Linked DNA regions of Homo sapiens: all the other regions are linked to region 6. Evidence: promoter capture Hi-C in 16 types of primary human blood cells and fetal thymus (Javierre and others, 2016). All regions are on one chromosome and are shown on one strand. Each heading gives the region's core, a stretch centred on a gene start or on the middle of the fragment in contact. The rest is flanking DNA. Distances are from core to core; before and after follow the strand shown. Region 1 holds the start of ADCY7 (adenylate cyclase 7). Region 2 overlaps ADCY7 (adenylate cyclase 7). Region 3 overlaps ADCY7 (adenylate cyclase 7). Region 4 overlaps TENT4B (terminal nucleotidyltransferase 4B). Region 5 overlaps TENT4B (terminal nucleotidyltransferase 4B). Region 6 holds the start of HEATR3 (HEAT repeat containing 3).

Region 1 (3,211 bases), core at 161-2,660, 200 kb before region 6:
CCTTGGGAACCCAGGGCCTCTGGAGGTGGGAAGACAGACAACTGGGTGGGAAGCGAAGGCTGTGCAGCAAACGCCTTCCTGAGCTGCAGCCCCCTCAGCCTCCTGCACTTCCTGCAGGGCTGGCACTTGGCACTTCCTCTCAAATTGGCTGGCTTGTCACTTTTATGTCTCCTTTGGCCTCGTCTAAGACAATAATACAGTCATGATGTCACAATGGCAATGTCCTATTTACAGATTTTTTTTTCCCCAAGACAAATACTTAGATTTTAAACATGTCCTTCCACACACAGGCTAGAACCCCCTGTGATTCCCTGGGCAGCCCGGTCCTCACTCCGAGAAACACTGGTGTTGAGTCCACCCCTCACAGCCTCCATCTGCAAGATGGTGATGCTAGTGAAGGCCCACGGTCACATAGCCCTTCCAGACACATCCAGCCCACACTGGCTGCCCGTCCAGGCCTTGGACCCAGGGCCCCTGTCGTAGGTGGCTCGGCCTGGCCCCTACCTCCAGGCCCTTGGCTTCCCCCTCCCGGCCCTCCCTTCTCCTCTCCAGCAATGGCTGTCCAGGGAGGAAGCCCCCAGCCACAGATGTCCCTGCCCTTGACCCTGATGTGATGACACAGAGAAGAGGCAACTGCCTCACCCTCTGTACATACATGTTTAGATGAATGCATAGAAAGCTCCAGAAAGACCCGCTCCAGAAAGACCCACTCCAGATGGCCCATGCGGTCCCTGGGGGATAGAGGAGAGGCATTGCAGGGAAAGGGAAACCAGTCTGCTTTTTGGAGGCATCTTGGTTTCCTGACCCTCAGGCATGCACTCCTTTCAGAGGTTTTGTTTGTTTTTTGTTTTATAATTTCATAAAATTAGTTGAATTGGCCTTCCCTTGCCAATGTTTCCTTTCATTGAGAAAAGTCATGTGTGCTTGTAAATGTAAAATTACACCCTCGAGAAGGAGTGTGGACATTTGAGAGTCTGTGGTTCCTAGAATTCCAGATGGAACGGGCCACATGTACAACATTGTGGTCACAACCGCACTTTCTTGTCAGGCTGGGAAAAGCCAGTGACAAGTCGCCTCTGGTCCCCTGTTGAAGGGCCGCCTCTCCCAGCCATCTGCCCAGTAGGCTCACGGAGCCTCCTACTCCCCCAGCCCAGACCCTGCCCAGTGCACTCCCAGGCCAGGCTGCCGGGTGAGCTGCTTCCCACCCACTGTCCAGCCCCGTCCCCTGGGGCTCAAGCCACTAGGACTGGTGACACTCCATCCCCACACCCCACTTTTACCTGGCTCTCCTCCCCGGCCCCAGCAGCCGGCCAGGGTCTGCAGGGAGGTGGCCCGGCCCCCGCCTGCCCTTCCTCAGACGCGCCCAGGCTCACCCATCCGAAGGCTCCTTCCACGCTACCTAATGAGAGTGAGTCACATCTGGGACCCACCACTTCCTGCTCCGGCAGCGGCAGCAGCGGCGGCGGCGGCAGCAAGGCTAAGGCACAGCCCACAGCCCAGCCTCTCGGGGTGTGCAGGGCCCCCTCCCCCAGCCACAGTGCTGCTCTCCGCAGCCTGGGAGCTGCCAGGCCTGGGAGCTGTCGGGCTCCAATGACTTCATGGAAATTTGAAGCTTGAAGCTGGAACAATTTTGAAAAAATAATAATAAAACAAGCACCAAAAACCTCCATTAGAAGCCCCAAGACAACTGTTCAAAGTGGGGAGCAAATGCATCCTTAGTGAGCAATTAGCAATTAGCGGCCTGGCCTGAGCCTCCTGTGGGCTCTGACGCTCACAGACAGGCCCCCCGCGCCTTCCTGGGACTCAATTTCCCTATCTATGTAGTAAGGTGGCCCCGTCCACCTCTGAGAGGGGCCCAGGAGAGGTCAAAGATCTTCCAGCCCAGCCCACTGCCTCTCCATCTCACCTACGCTCCCATGCTGGGAGCAGGGCAGGGGCAGGCCCATCCTTGGGGCTCCTATTCCAAAATCAGAGTCCCTGGAGAGCCCCCAACATCCCTGGGCACCATGAGGCTGGGAATCAAACCCCAGCACCCCTTCTGCTATGCCAGGCCTCAGTTTCCCCACTGGGATCATGGGGCGCTCAGTGGCGAGGGAGCAGATCAGGAGAGGCTAAGAGGAGAGAGTGGAGACTCCCAAAACAGAGGGGGAGGCCTCCAGCCCGCTGGCCACAGCAGCACCTGGTCCTCAGGGAGCCCTTCTGAGCATGTGACTGGCATCCTGGGATTACGAGCTCCTCAAAGCAATGGTGTACCTCCTCCACCTCCCACATCCAGGGTCAGACACCCCTCTTCTGGTCTTCTAACCCCTGCACCTTCCTCCATCACAGCACCTCTGTGCTGTGACCACTGGTTGCTGGTCTGTCTTTCCTAGGTTATATCCTTGAGGAGGGCAGAGATGGGAGGGCAGCTGTAATATCAACAGCTGTGTCCCCAGCGTCCAGCCCCAGCTGGTCACAGAGTAGACATCCCACACATACTGATCAGGAGGAACTGAACATGTTAGGTGCTGTCTCTGTGCCAGGCCCCATGCAGGGAACTAGCAGGTGATCTAAGGTCTGCCATCTGGTGGAGACAGGCATAGGACTCACACAGGGTTCCAGGCTGCTCCAGAGGCCACAGGAGGGAGTGGGAGACCTCAGGGGATCCTCCCCATCAGGGTCGCCCTCCTATCAGCAAATGTCTCCCTAGCAAATGTCCCAGAGCAGAGAAGGAACAGACATCATCATCATCAAAAGAGGGGAAAGACAAGCCACTGACTAGGAGAAAGTCACATCCTATATGACTGACAAAAGACTCCTCCCTAGCATATATAAAGATCTCCCAGGCTTGGCATGGTGGCTCATGCCTGTAATCCCAGCACTTTGGGAGGCTAAGGTGGGCGGATCACCTGATGTCAGGAGTTTGAAACCAGCCTGGCTAACATGGCAAAATCCCGTTTCTACTAAAAGCACAAAAATTAGCCAGGCGTGGTGGCATGAGCCTGTAATCCCAGCTACTTGGGAGGCTGAGGCAGGAGAATCACTTGAACCTGGGAGGCAGAGGTTGCAGTGAGCCGAGATCACACCACTGCACTCCAGCCTGGGCAACAGAGTGAGACTCTGTCTCAGAAAAAAAAAAAAAAAAAAAGACCTCCCACAAACCAATAAGAAAAAGACAAATGGCCCAATTAAAAGATGAACAAGAGACTTACACAGGTACTTCAACAAAGAG
Region 2 (3,102 bases), core at 526-3,025, 230 kb before region 6:
AAGGTCACCCAAGCAGTGGCTGTGCTGACAGGGCTTAGGGGTGGGGAGGAAAGATATCAATGCAGAGAGGAAAGAGGGAATGGGGAGGGCAGAGTAGGAGAGCGGCGAGGGTGGGGACTCATAGGAAAAGGCCCAGGGAGAGAAGGGGACCCCCGAGAGCCCTCTGAGGTTCATCTGAGGCACTGCTGCGTCACCAGACCCTCCTTAAGCCCTCAGCAAGGGTGGCCACATGCACCGAGGCCTCATGGGTGGGGCTTTAGGGGAGCTGAAGAAGGAGCGCCATCTGCCTCTGCTCTCCCCTCCCCACCCTCTACCCCACTCAGCTGACCCTCGGACTGGACGCCCCAGCAGGTGGCCCTGTGCTCTGGCTTCTGGCCAGGAGGGAGCTAAGAGGGCTCTGTCCTGCAGGCTCACGAGGGCTAGGCCTGCTCCTGGAACACCATCTGTCTCCAGGACTCGAGCCTATCCTGTCCTCGTCCCTACTCTGTGCCCATCAGCCATCACAGACCCAGGCCCCAGACACAGCACCAGCCCTGCCTCCAGGTCCCCTGCACCTGCCCAGCCTGGGAACCATCCCTGGCCTGTGCCCTCCGCCAATTACTCAGTTTCAGCGTGTGCCAGATGTTTCCTGCTGGGCCCCATCTGGCACATGCTGAGTGAGTTCTGAGTGACTGCAAGGACAAGAGGACAGTGGCTTTCCTAGAAAGCAGGCAATCTTGGCAGACCTGGATACTAGGCTCCAGCTACCCTGATCTCCTCTCGGACCAGGCACAGGACTGCCCATGGACCCAGCCCAGCTCTCGGGGATGTAGGAGAGGCCACATTCCCCCGGCTGCTCCACCGGCTGACAGTCCCCTGTGTCTCTGACACTTGGAGTTGGGGAGCTGGGTCTTGTGCGGAGGTGTGACTTGTATGCCTCTGAGAGAGGAGGCCCTGGCTCTTGGAAAGAGCTTACACTTCTGGAATCTGATTGTTGATAGGAGAAAAGGCTGGGACCAGCCCTGCCCAACTCTGCCCAGAGATTAGATGCTCTGACTGGGAAGCTGGCACCTGCCATGGCCTCCCTTTCCCCATCTGTGCAATAGGGCCACGCCTCCTGGGCCTGCTGGAGAGGGAAGACTGTGTCCAAGGGCAAGGGACCCTCTGTGTGGGCTTTATGGTAAGGAAAGGGCCAGCTGTGGCCCGAGCCCAGGGCCCCTGCCTCACATGAGGCCCAACCTCTGGGGCTCCCAGCTGCTGGTTCAGAAGCCATGCAGATCCTGAAGGAAGGTTCCAGGCTAGACAGGCCCTCTGAGTCACTCAGTCCACAATCCCCAGGATGGGACAGTTTTCCAGAGCATCCCTGACCAGTGCAATCCTGTAGAAGCTTGGTTACCCCCTGCAACAGGGAGCCCACTTCCAGTCCCTCCTGGGATTGAGTAGCTCTGATCATGAAAAATTCTTCCCAGTGTGAAGTCATAACTTGCCTCCCATCAAGTTCTAGACCATTGATTCTCTGCCCACAGAGACACCTGCGGGGCTCTTACAAATTCTGGCCAGGCGCAGTGGCTCACACCTGTAATCCCAGCACTTTGAGAGGTCGAGGCAGGCGGATCACAAGGTCAGGAAATCAAGACCATCCTGGCTAACATGGTGAAACCCCGTCTCTACTAAAAATACAAAAAATTAGCCAGGCGTGGTGGCAGGCGCCTGTAGTCCCAGCTACTCAGGAGGGTGAGGCAGAATGGTGTGAACCCGGGAGGCGGAGCTTGCAGTGAGCAGAGATCACACCACTGCACTCCAGCCTGGGCAACAGAGCAAGACTCCGTCTCAAAAAAAAAAAAAAAATTCTGATGGGGCAGGGCATGATGGTGCATGCCTGTAATCCTAGCACTTTGGGAGGCTGAGGTGGGTGGATCACTTGAGCGTAGGAATTCAAGACCAGCCTAGACAATGTAGCAAAACCCCATCTCCACAAAATACAAAAAAATTAGCCTGGGGTTGTGGTGCACACCTGTAGTCACAGCTGCTCGGGAGGCTGAAGTGGGAGGACGCCTGAGCCCAGGCAGGTTGAGGCTGCTGTGAGCCATGATTATGCCATTGCACTTCACGCTAGGTGACAGAGCAAGACTCTGTCTCAAAAACAAAACAAAACAGAACTCTGATGGGTGTGGACATGGGCACTGGTGTTTTATTTAAGCTTTCCATGTGATTTGCATGTACAGCCAGGATAGGGAGCCACCACCTTAAATCTTACACTTCAGTCTCTATTTAATGGCCACCACTTCCAGGAAGCCTGCCCTGATCACCTGAGGCTGGGCTAGGTGCTCCCCAGGCTTCCTGGCCCCCACACTTCTCTTCTTCAAAGCACATACCATGTAGGCCCAAGGCCCCACCCAGACTCAGGGCCTGGCACTTACCCTCTCTCAGGACCATTTGGTCCATTAATGGAAATGTTGCTTGCCTTACCCCCTCCCTGCCTGGCACGTGTCGAGCTCCTCAGCATCCTGGTCCTCGCCTCAGCCCTCATGTCCTTGCATGTCAGACCTTGTGCCCTTGTCCCCCTCACACCTCACACGCACACTGAGCACGTTCACCCCATGGACACACGGGGCTTTCTTTCTACTCCAGGCTTTGTCTATGCTGTTCCCCCTGCTAAGAACACTGTTCCCTTTCCTCCTCAGATATTTTTTCAAGTATCTCAGACTTTAAGGTGGGCCAGGAGTGGTGGCCCACGGCTGTAATCCCAGCACTTGGGAGGCCAAGAGGGGATGATCACTTGAGGTCAGGAGTTCGAGACCAGCCTGGCCTACATGGCGAAACCCCATTGCTACAAAAAAAAAAAAAAAAAAAAAAAAAAAAAATTAGCCAGGCGTGGTGGTGCATGCCTGTAGTCCCAGCTACTCAGGAGGCTGAGGCATGAGAATCACTTGAGCCTGGCAGGTCGAGGCTGCAGTGAGCAGTGATGGCACCACTGCACTCCAGCCTTCATGACAGAATGAGACTCCATCTCACAAAAACAAACAAACAAAACGTAAAAGTTTAATGTGCACATGATTCACCTCAGATCCTGTGAAAAGCAGCTTCTGGGTGAGGCTGGGCATTCCACAGTCCTCCTGAGCT
Region 3 (3,252 bases), core at 421-2,920, 250 kb before region 6:
ATTCCAGAAGAAACTTGATGAGACCACCAGATTGCTCAGGGAACTCCAGGAAGCCCAGAATGAACGTTTGAGCACCAGACCCCCTCCGAACATGATCTGTCTCTTGGGTCCCTCATACAGAGAAATGCATCTTGGTATGTTTTGCCTCCCATAAGAGGAGAGTCACGGGATGCTTCAAAGAAAAAACTTCTTGAGTACAGTGGTGATGCCACTATAGAGTAATGCTGATGTGAATCCCAGGGACAGTTTTTTTGTTTTGTTTTCTTTGCATGTGTACATTTACTGTTCTTTGGGATGCCTCTATCTAAAGGAACCATGCTTTAGTATCTGGAACTTTGTTTTTCTTTTTAGCTGAACAAGTGACCAATAATCTTAAAGAACTTGCACAGCAAGTAACTCCAGGTGATATCGTAAGCACGTATGGAGTTCGAAAAGCAATGGGGATTTCCATTCCTTCCCCCGTCATGGAAAACAACTTTGTGGATTTGACAGAAGGTACGTGCCCTGTTTTCTCTGGGAAAGCAGAAAGCTATGGTGACTATAGTCATCCCTCAGTGTCTGCCCGAGATTGGTATCAGGACCTCGGATTTGGTATTTACCCCACAAAGATAGCAAAATCTGTAGATGCTCAAGTCCCTAACATAAAAGGTATTTGCCTATACCCTACACACAACCTCCAGTATACTTCAAATCATCTCTACTTATATACTTCATAGAATGTAGTTAATAGACTGTATTTTTTATATTTTTTTCATTGTTTGTTGTATTTTTTTAATTGGGTTTTTTCCCCAAATATTTTTAATTGGCAGTTGGTTGAATCTGCAGATGTGGAACCCATGGATAAGAAGGGTCAACTGTAAAAGGAACATTTATCTGTTTTTAATGTATAAACTACTCTTAGTTTTCTTTTTATCTTGTCTAAAGAATTAATAAAGATTTCCTGTGTGCAGAAGAGCCACAATGATCACCTGATAATGCGCGTAGTCTTCAGCCTTGGATGTGGTGAAGAAGGGCTCTCAGCAGTTATGCTTCTGGATGGCAGCTTGACTTTCATGTCCCCTTTTTAATTAAAAGGTAAAAACAATGTTGAATTAAGTGATGTCTTTTTCTTTCAGACACTGAAGAACCTAAAAAGACGGATGTTGCTGAGTGTGGACCTGGTGGAAGTTGAGGCTGCCTGGTATTTGATTATATATTATGTACATACTTTTTCATTCTTAACTTAGAAATGCTTTTCAGAAGATATTAAATATTTGTAAATTGTGTTTTTAATTAAACTTTGGAACAGCGAATTTGGATGTTCCAGAGGTTGGACTTGTATTAGGTAATAAAGCTGGACCTGGGACTCGTGAGGAAGGAATGTGCTTGGGGCTGTTGCCATACCTGTGCAGCATTCTTTCAAAATAGTGCCTTCCAATGCTTCTTCCTTATGTCCCACAGACAGGATCATCACTAAGAAGCGTTCTTAAAACGGCCCCATCCAGTGAGATTTTCCGTTATACGAACATACTTGAAATAATTTTAGAATTTACTACTGTGGTTCTGCCCCTGCATACCCAGTGGGAATGATGCCCTTGTATGGGTAATTAGGCACCTCCCACCCACCCCTGACAAAAGCACACTGGGAGTTTTATAGCACTGTCACATGGCTAGTGTTCTTTTTTGGTTTTTTCCGTTTTTTAAAGAAAGAGGAGTTACTTAGTACTATAGCAAAGTAATAAGCCAAATAAGATAAACTAAGTCATCCTTGAATAGATCAGGGAATTACCAGATTACCAAAAGGTGACATTTCTACTTTACTTACTGTTTATCTGAAATACAAAGGTCAAGTACCCAAGGAGTTGAACTCTAAGTAGGAGACCACAAGATTCATGGCCCCCTTTTATCAGCAAGCTGAGATAAATGGTGATTTTGCTGAATCGGTATAGAACCTGTTATACACAAGGGAAAAAAATCAGGATGGAGATAGATAGATAGATAGCCTTGTTCAGTGAACAAATTAAGTTTGAAGGCCCTTATACAATCCTTCTATAAATCACCCAGGCAGGAAGCCATTTGATTTCTATTATTTTCCTGACTTTGAAAATTAATTAGTATTTAGGAAGAACAAATAGGGTAAAGGAAAATTAATTCCCTCAAAAGACTTAAAATCTTATGCTAAAAGAGTCAAATTTTCAAGTTGTTTGAGTCTACTTTTAATCTCTAGTGAGTTCATGAGGACCACGAAAATAAAATACCTTCAGATATTTGAGTTTTTCAAATTGCTAATTTAATGTATAAAAAGCAGCTAAACACTGGTACTTTATAAAAATGAAACAGCATTTTGAAACAAATGTTACAGATCTATAAATATTCATTATATAGAATAAACCCTAGTTACTTGCATGCACCACCTCAAATCATATTTCTTTACACTGACCTATTATATACACAAAGTATACAGTGGTTAATGATCTTCTCTTCTGTTTGTTTGTTTGTTTGTTTGTTAGGAAATTTCCTCAATAAGCCAGAAAACCTTAGGTATTATTTTCACAAAAGTTAACTCAGGAGAAATTGTAAGGAAGTCCTTGACCCATGGAGAAGGTCACTGTTTGTTTGTTTGTTAGATACGTGTGTCTGTCATAAAACAAAATGACACCAGTAATTACTTGGTAATTTAAAAACAAGTTCATAAAAAGAAAATACCTGCAGGTAATTTTTATGGTCAGTTATATTCTATAACCTGAACACTGAAAACTAAAAACTTTTACTTACAAACTATTATTATCTGAGCACAGCACAGTGCTTTGCTTTAATTGGAAATAAAAATGCATGAGTGAGTGGTAGTCAGTTATTTGTTAAACTCCCAACTGGGGTTTCTGTTGTTACTGAAGAAAAAAACAAATATTCCAAGAGTACAAATATGCTGACCTCAGAGAGGCCCAGTGCACTAATGTGTTTCTATGTTATATTAGCAACAGAAACCTTCCTGACTTGCCAGGAGAGCCCCCGCCGGGCAGCCCTGGTCACTGCTAGATCTTGAGAGCACAGATTTCAGTATAGTATTCATGTGAAACCAGCCCTTCATGTAAAAAGTTTTGGTGTGTAAAAAAGGCAACTTAAGCGAGGCTAATTGCCCTTACCAGCATTGTTGCCATGAAATTCCTTTATACAGCAAGTTCTTCTATTCATACTGATTCCACTTATGTGCAGCACATGAGAGCTGCCACTAGTCTACCCAGCACCTTTGTGCAAATTAGAATACACCTGCCC
Region 4 (2,967 bases), core at 169-2,668, 150 kb before region 6:
AATAGTTGTTATACTGTATTTTTAAAATAATTTGTATTGTTTTTATTGGTACATTGTTATTTTTATAGTTTTTTCTGAATATTTTCAATCCATTGTTGGTTTAATATGGAGGTGTGGTACCTGTGGATACAGAAAGCCAACCACAGGAAACTTTCAGAAGCAGTTCAGATCACTAATGTTCCCTCATTATCCAGAGACACAATCACAAATCCTTCATTTTTGTTCTCTAAGCAGGAGTCTTCGAATAGATTACTAAATTGGGATCAGACTACTTTAACTGTAGGGCAAGTGAGGGCCTTTAGGTCAATTCCACAAAGAACATCAGGTAACATCATGCTGTGGCATAAAACTGGGATGCATTCCATCTCAACCCATGGAGAACGGTGGAACTCAGGCAGAAATATGTATGCAGGTAATTGTAATAAAAAAAGGATAGGCCGGGCACAGTGGCTCACGCCTGTAATCCCAGCACTTTGGGAGGCCAAGGCAGGTGGGTCACCTGATGTCAGGAGTTCAAGACCAGCCTGGCCAACATGATGAAATCCCACCTCTACTAAAATTACAAAAATCAGCCAGGTGTGGTGACGGGCGCCTGAACCCCAGCTACTTGGGAGGCTGAGACAGGAAAATTTCTTGAACCTGGGAGGCAAAGGCTGCAGTGAGCTGAGATCATGTCACTGCACTCCAGCCTGGGCGACAGAGCGAGACTCCATCTCGGGGGAAAAAAATGATAAACAGTGAAACCAGTTCAACCTCTGAGGCGAGATGGACCTGGGAACCTAACCACAAGCTCATGTTCCTCATCTGTAGGTAGACAGATGATGGCTGCCTGGCTGGCTGGAGAGAAAGAGATAGATAGATAATCAACCTCCACCTAAGAAAGATAAGGGTTAAGTTAGATCACGGCTTCTCAACATTGGCATTTGGGGGTGGATAATTCTTTGTTGTAAGGGCCTATACTGTTCATCATAGAATGGCTGATGGCATCCATGGCCTCTACCCACTAGGTACTAGCAGTGCGTACCCAGTCAGGACAATCAAATATGTCTCGGACATTGCCAAATGCCCCCTGGAGAACAAAATAGCCACTAGCTGAGAACCACTGATTTGGATCACATAGGAGAAAGAATGCGATGTATGGTCATTGCTCATAAAACATTAGTACCCTTGCCTTTTCCCTTTACCTACAGTGTCATATACATACTGTCATATACTTGCAAGTTTTACATACAATGAAACTTCTTTGTTTTGCCAATTGGAAAAAAACCTTCCCTAGCTTCCCACCACCACCCAGGACAGTGCCTGAAGAAAAGCTACAAACACAAAGTAATGGATTTTATTAGTATTATTTTGTGTACTTCTTTGCATACACAAAATTGTAGAACAGGCCCTCAAAGTGCCCTAAAAAGTGACGTATTAACTTAGTACCAGTAACAGGCCAAGTGTGGTGGCTCACACCTGTAATCCTAGCACTTTGGGAGGCCAAGGCGGGCACATTGCTTGAACCCAGGAGTTCAAGACCAACCTGGGCAACATAGTGAGACTCAGTCTCTACAAAAAAATACAAAAATTAGCTAAGTGTGGTGGCGTGCACCTGCAGTCCCAGCTACTCGGGATGCTGAGGTGGATCACCTGAGCCCAGGAAATCGAGGCTGCAGTAAGTCGTGATCGCACTATTGCACTCCAGCCTCAGCAACAGAGTGAGACCCCATCTCAAAAACAAAAAACAAAAGACTTAGTACCAGTAACAAAAACGACAAATAAGCCAAGAAGAAATCCTGAGTAATCATTTTGTTCACTGACTGGGAGCTGTCTAAAAGGCAATTAGCTGGTCTGAGAGAGATGAAAAATGGCAATTTCAGGAAAGAAATAAGAAAAGACTTATGCGTGCATTAGCCAAAGGAAATGAACTTCAAGTGACAAAAGTTCTTACTTGACATTTTCATTTAGCTGTAAACAATTATATAATGTTTACCCTGGCAGGCTGGAACTAAGTAGTAATGAGGTTTTGATATATCATATCCAATAACAGACCACTACAACAATGAGGTTTGATTTGTCTTTCTTCTCTTTACACTAATAATTTCTAAGGATAGCTTGCCTTTAGTAGTTGCTATTAGCACTACAAAAAAAAAATAGTTGTTAGTCATCCAATCCAATGAAAATAGTTAGGAAGCCTCAATTCTAAAGACTGCAGAAAATTGTTTGCCTTTAAAATTTAATTAGACCACAACTCTACAGAGCACTTCTACTTGCATGTGAGGACTAGCATGAGATACCAGCAGATAGGCTTCTAGCCCGTGGACAAGGACTGTCCGAAGCATAAGCTACCCAGGAAGGGACTCACGTCAGCGCTGGGCCAGAGCTCCTTAATTACACTCTCGATCCTGTTCACCACCTCCATCCGCATCTTCTCCTCCTCAGGTCTTGGAGACATGTATTCATAAAAATCACTGATTTCTTCATGCAGACTGAAGAAAAAAACAGAAAAGTTAATATGAACAGGGCCAATCTAATGAGAAATCACTATCTTAAATAATCTTATCTAATTAAGTCTTATAATTCAGCTGATGACTACCTTAATTTTAATGTTATAACTCAAGATAAGCTAAAATGGGAATGTACAGAATTTAATCAAAAAACCCAAAATAATTAAATAATGAGAAATTTCCTGTGCAAAACACTTGCTGGGGTGCTGGTGATTTAAATAAAATAAAACAAGCATACGGGCTGGCCTCTGCCTTTCCACTTCTGATCTAATAGACACAAGATACTGAACCCAGGTGACACAGGCAAGTTTCCTGGCAGTAGGGACTGACCCTCTTATCTCTTGGGGATCCATTCCTCACAGTAGCAAACAGTACATCTTTCATAATGTTTGCTCAGTGAATTAAGTGTCAAATGAACAAATCAGGCAGTGAACAACAGCAAAGTCTTGAAAAGAATGGCTGGCAAAGGCTCCATGAA
Region 5 (2,957 bases), core at 337-2,836, 160 kb before region 6:
ATATATAAAAGAATCTCGTCTCAGAAATGGCTGCATTTAACAGAGCCATACACATTGATGCTAAACATAAGAGCTTTCACCCTGAAAGAAAGCATTTTCAGAAATGTCACTTACATTCTATTATATTAAATATTCCCAACTGAGTTTCAAACTCAACAGGTAATGATAACAGAATTATACATCTCATTGCACTCAAAGCTGACTACAACCAAAATTTACAGTATGATTGAAACAAGCCAATGTTTAAAAAAGTTTTAATTAACGATAACAATTCCATGAAAGAAGAGGATAAAGAATGGGATGACAAGAAGTATTTGGTCTTAATAAGGCAATACAAAATAGATCCATTATCAAAGACCATTTAATTTGTAAAGATCAACAATACCAAAAGCATAGAGTGGAATATAAGAAAATAGTTTTTTATAAGTATGATTTAATTAAAGCTGTTTACAGTTATTCTCCCACAGTAGTTAAGCATGAATTTTAAAAAGAATAAGAGATGAGAAACAGGCACACGCAGCACACAGGGTTAGAGAAGCCAGCATGCAAAGTCTGTGGAACTCGAAGTTTCACTGCAACAGGAATGAGACCAGACATGGGTGACCTTTTTTTTTTTTTTTTTCCTATTAGGAAGAAATGGGGGGAAAAAAAAAAGACTGCAAAGGAAGCAAACACAAAGTCATGTAATTGCCCATTGCCCAAGACGACAGCACTATAGAAAACAGTTGCAAGTTAATTCTCGGAGATGACCAGAGATTTTTCAGTGTTTACACAAAAGTACATAGTACATTTTTTTTTTTTTACAAAATAAAATAAACATCATTTGCCACCATAAACCTTTTCTTTAGAGAGGAAAAATTTTTGCAGCAGGACACAAGGGTTCTATTAAGTCATTTCAATGCTGAGAAAAACAAATTGAGTAATAGAACTAATCACTTCCCTATATATGGATGTTAAGATGACAATTTAGATTATTTTTCAAACTAATCCTGAGAAAAAATCTGTTTACAATTTAAACAGTAATGTTATGTAAAAAGTATTATTAACAAATCCACTATTACAAATATCAATCTCCTATATGGTCTTCTATATATACACACAATAAAATGGTAAATATATGCAAAAATATTTAAAAAAAAAACATGCACAGATCACTTTCCCCTTTGGAATCTGGACTTCCTATCAGATACCTTTGTTTTCCTTCCCCACCTCATCCTCTGATACTGTTTTTTGTTTCTATCACCCTACCAACACTGAATACTATTCCCTATAACTCTGCATAAAGCCAATGAGAAATATATTTATTTTACATTCAAGCTTTAAATCTTAAAATGACCCTGTTGTAGCATATGACTTATCAAATAAGCAGCCTTTTTTTTCCCTCTTTTTTGCTTGCTTTTTTTTTTGTTTTGTTTTGTTTTTTTTGCAGTTGTCAGTCTTCATGATCCATTCTGTGGCGAGCTGGGAAAAAACGCAGTTGCTAAGTCAACGTCTGAACAGTGTGAGGCTCCTGAATATCTCCCAGGAGTCCCTGCGCAACTGTCCTGAGCATGAGATCATTGCACAGAGAAGACAGTCCACCGCGCAGCGCTGACTATCTACAGAGGTCTGAGAGGGGCGCGTCCCTCTTGTGTTTCCTCTTTTTGCCATGGTAATACTGATTATTGGATTTGCCTTGATGTTGTTTGTTTGTCATCAAGGAACCATGGCTTGTTTGAGTTGTACCTTGGAAGCCTTTGCTGGAAGAACGAAAGAGCCTTGCTGATCCATGCTGCAGAAACAGAAAACGACCACAAAGACATCAGTATTGCAGAAAAGCAGAGTGTTCTCAAACACCTGGATTTGGGGAAGCTTTCAAAACTAGGAATATGCTGGCTAGATTGTTACCTTACTGATCACTGACTTATCTAGTGGGCAGAAAAAGCTGTTACAGGGGTTCTTTTTAGCTCTAAAACCCTTACTTTATTTTAATGGAAATAATGAAAAGCATAGACCACTCGCCCGCCTTCTTAACAGTGTGTGGGATGCAAAGGTTTTCTTAAGAAACTTACCAACCCAAACACCACATCATAAGTGACAGAGCGGGAAGAGGCTCTTGGGCATGACAGGCACACTGGTAGGTTTGGGTCAGCACAGGTGGCTACTCCCTTCCTGCTACTCATGGCCTGTGGCTTTCTCGTGACCTCAGTCCCTTCTGTCAACCCTGTCACTTGAACTGGTATTTTGTGATAAGTCTGTGTCTGGCATACATGGCTAAGGCCGCGTAGGTAAAGTGAACTCAGTGAGTCAAATCAGACACAAGGTTACAGCCAAGAGGCCTATTCCCAGGTTCCCAGCTATAGTGAGGAGTGACCCAGCCTTAGGCCAGAGCCCCATATCAATGGCTTCCTCCCCTCACTCTGAGTCATTACTCAGTTAATGACAATTCTAGGCAACAAAAAAACTTAAACTAGAGTATCTCTGTGGCCTTTTAAGTCCAAGCTAATGTTAATCAACTGACCACGCCTGACAGCCAGCTGATCATTTCAACACCAGCAACAAGGTATTGAACATTAAAATATTAGAAAAGGATACATTATTCCCAGATATGCACACTGCCATGAGGCCTCACAAAACCTTCATGCCAGCTTATTTCATGTACAACTGAGACACTTTTTATATGGTAGTTTGGCTGGAACATCTTATAAGGACCAGTCAATAGATTCCTGAAGAGATTTATGTTACAATGGTGTCTCACAAGGATCCTTAGGACATCCTGTTCCTAGAAGCACTGTCATGTGTTGGAACCTCTTAGAATAAAATAAGTTTGTTCTTCAATCTAGCGTTTTCTTCAAACCCATGCTGCATATTATTTACATGTGGGAAATTCTAAATATTTTGTATCAAATACTAACAATTAAAAACCCACGTTCCACACACCTGAGATTTGTTGGTGCTGTTGGATGTGTTAGTGGTTT
Region 6 (2,986 bases), core at 57-2,556:
TCAAGCGATTCTCCTACCTCAGCCTCCTGAGTAGCTGGGATTACAGGCACCCACCACCATGCCCGACTAATTGTTTATAATTTTTCTACAGACGGGGTCTTGCTATGTTGCCCAGGTTGGCCTTGGACTCCTGGCCTCCAGTGATCCTCCTTCCTTGGCCTCCCAAAGCAATGGGATTACAGGTGTGTGCCACCGCGCCCGGCCCAAGAGCACCCAATTCAAACTTCCCACCCCCAACTCATCATCATCTCGTTTTCCCACAGCAATTCTCACTATTTAATATTATGTTTTACCTTTTTACTAGCTTCCTGTCTGTCTCCCCATCAACATGACTTGTGCCAAGACAGGGATCTTGGCTGTCAACAGATCTCGCTCAAAAGTCTTGGCTGCTCAAAGTCCCCTGCATCTAGAACGATTCCTGACACATGAACTGAAGAGTTCATCCAAGCAAGGGACCCTAAGGAGGGCTTTTGGAGAGTGTAAAACGTGCGCAAGGCGTGAGGGCAGGACGCCTGAGCAGGTGGACGCTGCAGGTGAAGCAGCCAGGTGGACAGATGAGATGCGGGGATACTGGGCTTCTCCGGAGCCTGGAGACTGGCTTCAAATCTCTGCAAACGGGAGACCGGGCCAGTGCCTGATGGCACACAGAAGGCGCTGGGTGACCGCTGCGACCGCCCGCAGCCCAGACGCGGGGGAGGCCAGCGGTGGGCACCGCCCCGCACCCTTCCTGGCTCACCTCAGCGCGCCGGCTGCAGTCTCCCTGACGGCCAGGCTGGGGTCTAGCAGCAGCGGCCCGAGGCGGCGCACGGCGTCTCGTCGCGCCAGGCCCGGGAGTGCCGGCCGCTGCTGCACCAGCCGGGCCAGCCCTGCGCAGGCGCACTCGCGGACCTCGGCGCTCGGGTGCTGGAGCTGCGGATGAGAGCGAAAAGGGTCAGAAGGCGCGCAATGCGCACGCGCGCGGGGCAACCTCGTCTCGCCTCCCGGCCCGACGGAGCCCTCGCCTCACCTTTTCCAGCAGCTCCGCCGCCGGCCCGTCGTCCTCCTCGCCTCCGGTCCCATTCGCCGCCGCAGCCGCCTCGGCCTGACAGTCGCCCGTAGGGGAGAACTGAGGTCGCTTGAAGCGCTTCGTCCGGCTCTTGCCCATGGTGACGTGCGCTGGGCGGACAGACCACCGAGAGAGGAGGGCAACAGCAGGCGGTGGAGGCTGCCGCGCCGTTAACAAGGTCCGTTGCTGCTGCTCAGCTGGGCCGGCTGACGGCTGCAGCACACATGGGCAAGCCGTGCGCAGGCGCACGGCGCGTCGTCTGCCGGGTCGGGGTTGGGGCGGGGCGGGGTGGGGGGAACTGGCGCACGGAGCGCGCAGGCGTGGAAGAGGGCATAGGCGGGGCCAGCTTCGGCAAAGGGGCGGAGCCTTGTGGGTTTACCGGGTAAGTAGGAGGTTGGACTAGAATAGTAACGCCGACCCGGGCGAGAGGATCACTTGAGGCCAGAAGTTCGAGACCATCTTGGGCAACATAGGAAAACACTCCACTCCCTGTCCTCCCCACCAAAAAAATTAAAAATTATCTGGGCATAGTGGCGTGTGTGTGTAGTCCCAGCTACTTGGGACGTTGAAGCCGGAGGATCACTTGACCCCAGGAGTTTGAGGCTGAGGTGAGCCGTGATCCTGCTACTGCACTCCATCCTGGGCGACAGAGCGAGACCCTGTCTCAATCAATCAATCAAGCAACCAATAAGTTAGTAACACCGGCTACAAATAATCAAATGTGATTAAGAATACCTAACTTGCAAGGTTATTGTAAGTTCTGTAAAGTTCATAAAGTTCTGTAAAGTGCCTAACACCAAGCCTGATATATAGCAGGTACTCAAAAAGCATTAACCACGATTTTATTTTGTGTCCCCAGCACCTCCCATAGCTCCTGTCGTAGACAGAGACTAGTTAATGTTTTGGAACGAATGTGTGTCTATATTTGATAAAACAGAATCGCTTAAGAACCTAATCTCCCTGCCTTAGTTTCCTCATCAGTGAAGTGGGGACATCGATAGTATATACCTCATGGAGTTGTTACGAAGACTAAATGTGTTCATATGTTTAAGGTGCTAAGAACAGAGACTGGCAGATACTAAGCACTATGTAAATGTTTGGAAACGTATTTAACAAAGAGATTCTTTTGCAGATATTTGTTGAGTACTAGGTACAGTGCTGGGCATTGGAATAAAGCAGTAATCAAGACAGTTTGGTTCCTGTCCTCTCTCCCTGTCCTTATGGAATTTACAGTCCAGGGAGAGATCTGTTGAATATATAATTATATGAATAACTTTGGTTATAATTGTGGTAAATACTAAGCAGAGGGAAAAGTACAGGAGAATCTTAGGTGGTCTTTATAATTAGACATGTAACGAGTGAGTACTCAATATATGCATAGCTTTGGGTCAATTTTCTTTTTTTCTTTTTGTTTTTGAAACAGAGTCTCACTCTGCTGTCCAGGCTGGAGTGCAATGGTGCGATCTCGGCTTATTGTAACCTCTGCCTTGGAGTTCAAGCAGTCCTCCTGCCTTAGCCTCCTAAGTAGCTGAGATTACAGGTATGTGCCACCATGCCCAGCTATTTTTTTTTTATTATTATTTTTAGGAGAGACGGGGTTTTACCACGTTGGTCAGGCTGGTCTCGAACTCTTGATCTCAAATGATCTGCCTGCCTCAGCCTCCCAAAGTGCTAGTATTACAGGTATGAGCCACCACGCCCAGGCTCAGGTCAACATTCTACTGGAGAAAATTTCCATTCCATGGTAACCCTACTGTCAAAGAGTTGACTGTCCAGTAAGGGAAATTAATTACTATGGCAAATTTTAGAGAGTAACAGAAGTGTAGCTCATGTTGCATTTGGGCCTATCAAAGATCAATCTTGGGCTGGGCACTGTGGCTCACACCTGTAATCCCACCACTTTGGGAAGCCAAGGTGAGCAGATCACCTGAGGTCTGGAGT

Evidence for each region. Contacts are between HindIII fragments. The CHiCAGO score rates a contact against its expected background, and 5 or more counts as called.
Region 1: the fragment with the promoter of ADCY7 here is called in contact with the fragment with the promoter of HEATR3 in region 6 in 8 of 17 cell types (neutrophils, monocytes, M0 macrophages and 5 more); the score reaches 10.1 in neutrophils.
Region 2: a fragment that was not itself captured here is called in contact with the fragment with the promoter of HEATR3 in region 6 in 1 of 17 cell types (neutrophils); the score reaches 6.6 in neutrophils.
Region 3: a contact is called between a fragment that was not itself captured here and the fragment with the promoter of HEATR3 in region 6, in 1 of 17 cell types (neutrophils). The highest score is 8.4, in neutrophils.
Region 4: a fragment that was not itself captured here is called in contact with the fragment with the promoter of HEATR3 in region 6 in 14 of 17 cell types (M2 macrophages, M0 macrophages, megakaryocytes and 11 more); the score reaches 19.1 in M2 macrophages.
Region 5: a contact is called between a fragment that was not itself captured here and the fragment with the promoter of HEATR3 in region 6, in 2 of 17 cell types (M2 macrophages and M0 macrophages). The highest score is 6.4, in M2 macrophages.

The regions. Positions count from the first base shown.
Region 1 is chr16:50,264,750-50,267,960 of GRCh38, reverse strand. ADCY7 (adenylate cyclase 7) reads right to left here and starts at 1,410. Exons shown (of 26, transcript NM_001114.5): 1 at 1,281-1,410. RefSeq lists enhancers at 1,638-1,727, 1,673-2,266. The HindIII fragment of the contact is 14,845 bases long and covers 1-1,614 here.
Region 2 is chr16:50,295,087-50,298,188 of GRCh38, reverse strand. All of the region lies in intron 7 of ADCY7 (adenylate cyclase 7), which reads right to left. Among named protein-coding and RNA genes, the nearest start is that of MIR6771, 4.0 kb to the right of the region's middle. The HindIII fragment of the contact is 813 bases long and covers 1,369-2,181 here.
Region 3 is chr16:50,317,130-50,320,381 of GRCh38, reverse strand. ADCY7 (adenylate cyclase 7) reads right to left here. Exons shown (of 26, transcript NM_001114.5): 26 at 2,247-3,252. It overlaps BRD7 (bromodomain containing 7), which reads left to right. Exons shown (of 17, transcript NM_013263.5): 15 at 1-134; 16 at 352-495; 17 at 1,116-3,252. The coding sequence ends at 1,171. Among named protein-coding and RNA genes, the nearest start is that of MIR6771, 26 kb to the right of the region's middle. RefSeq lists an enhancer at 89-1,288. The HindIII fragment of the contact is 7,497 bases long and covers 1-3,252 here.
Region 4 is chr16:50,210,827-50,213,793 of GRCh38, reverse strand. It overlaps TENT4B (terminal nucleotidyltransferase 4B), which reads right to left. Exons shown (of 12, transcript NM_001365324.3): 2 at 2,348-2,471. Among named protein-coding and RNA genes, the nearest start is that of ADCY7, 54 kb to the left of the region's middle. RefSeq lists a silencer at 2,922-2,967. The HindIII fragment of the contact is 3,393 bases long and covers 1-2,967 here.
Region 5 is chr16:50,227,966-50,230,922 of GRCh38, reverse strand. It overlaps TENT4B (terminal nucleotidyltransferase 4B), which reads right to left. Exons shown (of 12, transcript NM_001365324.3): 11 at 2,920-2,957; 12 at 1-1,771. The coding sequence ends at 1,595. Among named protein-coding and RNA genes, the nearest start is that of ADCY7, 37 kb to the left of the region's middle. The HindIII fragment of the contact is 534 bases long and covers 1,320-1,853 here.
Region 6 is chr16:50,064,290-50,067,275 of GRCh38, reverse strand. It overlaps HEATR3 (HEAT repeat containing 3), which reads right to left and starts at 1,306. Exons shown (of 15, transcript NM_182922.4): 1 at 1,007-1,306; 2 at 737-909. The coding sequence starts at 1,144. It overlaps HEATR3-AS1 (HEATR3 antisense RNA 1), which reads left to right and starts at 952. Exons shown (of 3, transcript NR_186390.1): 1 at 952-1,223; 2 at 2,469-2,585. RefSeq lists silencers at 584-843, 924-973, 1,304-1,353 and an enhancer at 1,204-1,498. The HindIII fragment of the contact is 22,013 bases long and covers 1-2,986 here.